Regions from separate parts of the Homo sapiens genome. Here region 1 is linked to region 2. The links are contacts of gene promoters, found by promoter capture Hi-C in human tissues and cell types (Jung and others, 2019). All regions are on one chromosome and are shown on one strand. The core of a region is centred on a gene start or on the middle of the fragment in contact, and the rest is flanking DNA. Distances in the headings are between cores, read along the strand shown. Region 1 has its middle 6.9 kb from the start of INAFM1. Region 2 holds the start of BBC3 (BCL2 binding component 3).

Region 1 (3,407 bases), core at 161-2,660, 50 kb after region 2:
GCGATCTCGGCTCACTGCAACCTTCATCTCCCTGGTTCAAGTGATTCTCTCGAGTCTCAGCCTCCTGAGTAGTTGGGATTTCAGGCACGTGCCACCACACCCAGGTAATTTTTGTATTTTTAGTAGAGACAGGGTTTCGCCATGTTGCTAAAGCTGGTCTCAAACTCCTAACCTCAAGTGATCCACCCGCCTCAGCCTCCCAGAGTGCGGGGATTGCAGGCGTGAGCCACTGTGCCCGGCCACAATGTGCACTTTGGATGAGGTGGGAGCCATGGGAGGCTTCTGAGGTGAGGAGGGTGTGCGCTGATTCAGATCTCAAGACCTTCTGACTGCGATGTGGAGAATGGACTGCAGGGGGCGATGGTGGAAGCCAGGAGCCCAATGAGGACACCACCGCCCTGGTTCAGGTGAGAGACCATGGTGGCTGTGCTAGAGTGTTGGCTGGGGAGGAGGGGAGAAGTGGTCAAAAATCCGTGTGTGGGCTGGGTGCAGAGGCTCACACCTGCGATCACCTCCCAGCACCCTGGGAGGCCAAGGCAGGAATATCACTTGGGCCCAGGCGTTCAAGCCCAACCTGGGCAACATAGTGAGACCCCGTCTCTACAAAATAAAAATAAACTTTTTTTTTTAAAATGAAAAAAGTAAAAGCAAGGCATGGTGGCTCATACCTGCAATCCCAGCATTTTGGGAGGCTGAGGCTGGAGAAATGTTTGAGCTCAGGAGTTCAAGACTAGCCTGGGCAACATAGCGAGACCCCATCTGTACACTAAATAAAAAATCAGCCAGGCGTGATGGCTTGTGCCTGTAGTCCCAGCTATTCTGGAGGCTGAGGCAGGAGGATTGCTTGAGTTAAGGAGTTGAGGCTGCAGTGAGCTGTGATTGTATCACTGCACTCCAGTCTGGGTGACAGAGTGAGACCTTGTCTCAAAAAAAAAAAAGTGTGTGTGTTGTGTGTGTATACTGATAAAAATACACATAGCATAAAGGTTACCATTTTAATCATCTTACCATCTTTTTTTTTTTTTTTGAGACAGAGTCTTGCTCTGCCACCCAGGCTGGAGTGCAGTGGGGCGATCTCTGCTCACTGCAACCTCCACCTCCCAGGTTCAAGTGATTCTCCTGCCTCAGCCTCCTAAGTAGCTGGGATTACAGGTATGTGCCACCATGCCCGGTTAATTTTTGTATTTTTAGTAGAGACGAGGCTTCACCATATTGGCCAGGCTGGTCTCAAACTCCTGACCTCAGGTGATCCACTGCCTCGGCCTCCCAAAGTGCTGGGATTACAGGCATGAGCCACTGTGCCTGGCCCATTTTAACTGCTTTAAAGTGCACAGTTTCGTGGCACTAAGTACATTTACAGTGTTGTGCAACCATCACCACCATTCATCTTTAAAATGTTTTCGTCTTCCCAAAATGAAACCCCGTACCCATTAAACACCATCTCCCCATTCCCCCTCCCCTCAGCCCCTGGCGAGCACTCATCTACTTTCTGTCTATATAAATATGCCTGTTCTGGACATTTTATATAAAAGCAATCATAACATACAGGGCCTTTTGTGTCTGGCTTATTTCACTTGAGTCATGTTTTCTTTTCTTTTTTTTTTTTTTGAGATGGAGTCTCGCTCTGTCGCCCAGGCTGGAGTGCAGTGGCGCAATCTCGGCTCACTGTAAGCTCTGCCTCCCGGGTTGATGCCATTCTCCTGCCTCAGCCTCCTGAGTAGCTGGGCCTACAGGTGCTGGCGACCACGCCCGGCTAATTTTTTGTGTTTTTAGTAGAAACGAGGTTTCACTGTGTTAGCCAGGATGGTCTTGATCTCCTGACCTGGTGATCCGCCCGCCTTGGCCTCCCAAAGTGTTGGGATTACAGGCGTGAGCCACCGCACCACCGCACCCGGCCGCAGCGTCCTGTTGTCAAGGCTTTTCTGGGTGAAAGCAAGTATCAGTGCTTCATTCCTTGTTTTTTTTTTTCTTTTTTCTTTTTTGAGACGGAGTGTTGCTCTGTCACCAGGCTGGAGTGCAGTGGTGCAATCTCGGCTTACTGCAACCTCTGCCTCCCAGGTTCAAGTGATTCTTCTGCCTCAGCTTCCCTAGTAGCTGAGACTACAGGCGCATGCCACCACGCCCAGCTAGTTTTTTTGTGTGTTTTTAGTAGAGACGGGGTTTCACCATGTTAGCCAGGCTGGTCTCAATCTCTTGACCTCAAGATCCACCTGCCTCGGCCTCCCAAAGTGCTGGGATTACAGGGGTGAGCCACCGTGCCCGCCTGCTTCATTCCTTTTTATGGCTAAATAACATTCCATTGGCCGGGCGCAGTGGCTCATGCCTGTAATTCCAGCACTTTGGGAGGCCGAGGTGCGTGGATCACCTGAGGTCAGAAGTTCAAGACCAGCCTGGCCAACATGGTGAAACCCAGTATCTACTAAAAACACAAAAATTAGCCAGGTGTAATGGTGCACACCTGTAATCCCAGCTATTCAGGAAGCTGAGACAGGAGAATTGCTTGAACCAGGAGGTGTAGGTTGCAGTGAGCTGAGATCGCACCACTGCACTCCAGCCTGGGCGACAGAGTGAGACTCTGTCTCCAAAAAAAATTTCCATTGTATGGATAGGCCACATTTTGCACATTTTGTTTATCCGTTCATTTGTTGATAGACAGTTGGGTTGCTTCCACCTTCTGGCTATTGTGAATAGTGCTGCTGTGAGCATGCATGTACAATATTTTGTTTGAACTTTTTTTTGGGCAGAGTCTCGCTCTGTTGCCCAGGCTGGAGTTCAGTGATGCAGTCATAGCTCACTGCAGCCTCCAACTCCTGGGCTCAAACAGTCCTCCTGCCTCAGCCTCCTGAGGAGCTGGGACTACAGGTGTGCGCCACCATGCCTGGCTAAATTTTTATTTTTTTGTAGAGACAGGATCTCCCTATGTTGTCCAGGCTGGTTTTGAATTCCAGGGCTCAAGTGATCCTCCTGTCTTGGCCTCCCAAAGTGTAAGAGATTACAGGCATGAGCTACCATGCCCCGCCTGATAATCTGTGTTTCATTTATGGAGGAACTACCAAACAAAATCTGTATATATATATATATTTTTTGGGACGGAGTTTGGCTCTTGTTGCCCAGGCTGGAGTGCAATGGTGCGATCTGGGCTCACTGCAACCTCCGCCTCCCAGGTTCAAGCGATTCTCCTGCCTCAGCCTCCCGAGTAGCCGGGATTACAGGCACGCACCACCACGCCTGGCTAATTTTTATTTTTAGTAGAGACAGGGTTTCACCATGTTGGCCAGGCTGGTCTCGAACTCCTGACCTCAGGTGATCCACCCGCCTCGGCCTCCCAAAGTGCTGGGATTACAGGCGTGAGCCACCACGTCCACTATGCCCAGCCCTGAATATTCACATTTTTTGCTGCAAAAATA
Region 2 (3,650 bases), core at 1,073-3,572:
CAGCACACACACAAGGACTCACACGGGACTGGCCAGCCTGACCGCCCACCCCACCTCCCACTTGCACACAAACACTGAGATGGCCCCAGTCTCGGACATCACTACTCAGTACACACAATACACACACACCCCCGACCAAAGCAGGAGCATCCAGACAGACCATCACAAGCACTCTACATACTGCGCACACTGGCTGGCACAATCCATCCCCACACATCCAAACTGTCAAAGTCTCACACACTGACCCACTGTTGATATGCCCAGGGGCACATGCAAACACAATGCAGCCTTTGCAAACACAAACACACACACACAAGCTAGGCACTGCCTCAGTTCCCAAACATGCCCCTCTCCACACACACACACTCACTCCAGAGATAAGACCTGCACACCTCTGGACTCACATATCAACACAAAACAGACACCCACGGACACACATACATCAACACCCCCAAAACACACCCACATGTCACCAACTCTCAGGACACACGTAGATCAGGCACACACAGACACATGCCATCAGACCTCAACACACCACCAGACACCAACCCACCCTCCTCACGCAACCCTCAAACATCATCACCAACTGTCAGCAACACACACACACACACACCCTACAGCTAACTCTAATCCCACACAGCCCAGCAGCACACACACCTAGCGCACCCACAGAAAACACTGGTCTCACGTGACTGACATAAACACTACACACACGCAGCCCACATGACACACATGAGCCAGCCGATCACAGTGACAAGCCCCTCAGACCCAACACACACACACACACACAGGCTCAGACACAACCCCATCCAGAGGCTGCCAGCAACACCCACCGTCTACACTGCATAGACCCCACAGATCCTGGGTCCTCAAATCCCAGACGCTGATGCCAGACACACAAGCCAAACCCAGACTGAAACAACCCCCCACCACACACATACATACACACACACACTCACACCTGACAACTCACACAGACACCTGGACAGAAAACAGACATTTGCATTTAGCAGGCGCAGCATCACAAACGCTGGGCAAAAGACACATGCCCCGGAGATACAGAGACGGCCTCAGCCAAGACAGAAACACACAGGCAAGACACAAGCACACATATCGCACGCTCGGGCAAGACACACACATAAACACACAAACAGCTCACTCCAGCAACACACACACACTACAACCTCCACACCCCAGCACACGCAGGCACCACAGACCCCCAGTATCATCCCGGAACAGCACACACAGACAACTCTCACCGACAACACACGCAGGTCCACCCACCCCACAAGCAGGGCACCCACAGACAGAACCCCACACAAACAGGCGCGGGGACTCACGCAGACACCCCGACGGGTCAGAAACCCCAACATTCCTCTGGATCGACACCACCACTCCCTGCAGAACCCAGCACAAACTCGGAGCCAGACACGCGCACACACCCAGGCGAGACACCTGCAGATCCACAACCCCGCACACGCGCGCTCCCACGGCGGTCCCAGACACCCCCCTCCGCTGTCACAGCCCCCCCCACCGCCGCCACGTGCGCCCGCCCCGCCCGCCAGGCGAGCGCGGGGCCAATAACCGGCTGTTGCTGGGGCGCAGCCCCCGCCCGCAGGAGCCGCAGACTCCACGGCCCGCGAGCCGCCCCCCGTCGCCGCCCCCAGCGGGCGCGCGCCCTGGGTGTGGCCGCCCCTCCGTGCCGCCCCCCCGCCCCTCCCGGACTTTGGGGGCTGGGGCACCCCTGGGGTCGACCCTCTTCCCCGGGGCCGCACTGGCCGCCAGGGGGCGCTGCCGAGCCCGCACCCCATTGTTTGTAAACAAACCCGCCAGACCGCCGAGGCACCTGTGCGCCCAGACCGGCGCCCCAACGCCGAGCCGCCTCTCACCCGGCGACCCTGGCCCAGGGTCCCTCGCGGGGTTTGGAGAGGCGCGGTGTGGGGAGGCAGGGCGCCCACACTGCTCTCCGCCTGCACTCCTGTCACCTCCTCCAGGGAGTCCACCCGGCCTGGCCGATCGCCGCCGGAGAGGATTCGGGGCGCGCACACTCACCCCGGGGGCATGAACACGCCGGAGGGGGCGGCGGTGGGGGGCGGGCGGCTTCCTTCAGGAGGGCGCGCCCGCCGAGCGCCGCTCTCCGCGGCGGCTGCTGCTGTGGCTGTCGCTGCTGCTGCCGCTCTAACTGCAGTGGCGGCTGCTGTGGCTGTGGCTGCTGCTGCTCCCCGGGCCGCAGGCGCGTCCGCGTCGTGGCCGCTGCTGGGATCGCTGGTGCCGCCGCCGCCGCCGCCAGGCGCCCGCTCGCATGTGGCTCGCGCCGCGTCTCAGGCCGCCCGGCGGATCCCGGGCCCGCTCCAAAGCCGCCCCGCCCCGCCCCGCCCCGCCCCCGCCCGGCGGGTCCCACGCCCCGCCCCCGCGTGACGCTACGGCCCCGCCCGCCCGCCGCGGACAAGTCAGGACTTGCAGGCGCGCGCCGCGCCCCCCCCTACCTCCGCGCCGGGGGTTTCCCTGCAGCGGGGGACGGGGCAGGGCCTAGCCCAAGGCAAGGAGGACCCAGGCGCTGTGCGGCGGGGTGTGGGGAGATCGCCCAGACACCGGGACAGTCGGACACACACACTGACTGGGACCCACAGATCCACACCCCCAGCGATGCGTACACAGACCGACCGACGGGCGTTCCAGGGTCCACAAAGTCACGTGCAGGCAGAGCCCAGAGGATGTACTCACAGACACAAGGCCACAGTCTCGCAAATCCACACCATGGACAGGGGCATGAGCACACACACTCACATACTGATGGGGCTCACACTTACACACACCCAGACGGAAATGCACAGACTCACTAACAGGGTCCCCTGGACAAGCAGACGGACACAATGACAGGGCCACACACAGTTGCAGAAACACCCACACTGATGATCACACCTGGGCCCACAAACTGTGTTCACAAACAACCCTACCGAACAGGCACCCACACCACACACACGGTGGTGCAACCACACAGACATAGGCGGAGTGCTTATCAGGAAACACAAACTTGCTGATAGGCACAGGGGACACACACATACACACAGACACCTGTTACAGGGATACCTGGATACACGGCCAAATCCAAATCACACTCCCACAGGGACATACACAAATGCACTCACACAATTTCACAGCTAACACATTAAAACTATCAGAAAGTGACATTCGCCCGACACGGTGGCTCATGCCTGTAATCCCAGCACTTTGGGAGGCCAAGGTGCGTGGACTGCCTGAGGTCAGGAATTCGAGACCAGCCTGACCAACATGATGAAACCCCATCTCTACTAAAAATACAAAATTAGCCGGGCGTTGTGGCGCATGCCTGTAATCCCAGCTACTTGGGAGGCTGAGGCAGGAGAACTGCTTGAACCCGGGAGGCGGAGGTTGCAGTGAGCCGAGATAGTGCCATTGCACTCTAGCCTGGGCAACAAGAGCAAACTCCGTCTTAAAAATAAAAATAAAGGAAAGAAACTGACATTCAGAGACACAAACCAAATCAGACATAGAAGAAACTGACCACCCACACATGTCACAAAGTCACACCTGTGACAGCTTCTTGCTAACTGGCCCACTGCACACACGTCGGAGCATGCACACCTGGCCACACTCACCACAAATCTGGC

What was found. The method cuts DNA at HindIII sites, captures the fragments that hold promoters and counts their contacts. A contact is called where the count stands out against the background at its distance.
Region 1: a contact is called between a fragment that was not itself captured here and the fragment with the promoter of BBC3 in region 2, in 3 of the 25 tissues and cell types used here (liver, neural progenitor cells and psoas muscle).

The regions. Positions count from the first base shown.
Region 1 is chr19:47,280,056-47,283,462 of GRCh38, forward strand. No RefSeq gene overlaps it. Among named protein-coding and RNA genes, the nearest start is that of INAFM1, 6.9 kb to the left of the region's middle. The HindIII fragment of the contact is 9,963 bases long and covers 1-3,407 here.
Region 2 is chr19:47,228,877-47,232,526 of GRCh38, forward strand. It overlaps BBC3 (BCL2 binding component 3), which reads right to left and starts at 2,323. Exons shown (of 4, transcript NM_014417.5): 1 at 2,053-2,323. RefSeq lists silencers at 1,481-2,200, 2,341-2,570 and enhancers at 2,711-2,830, 3,540-3,650, 3,590-3,650. The HindIII fragment of the contact is 48,720 bases long and covers 1-3,650 here.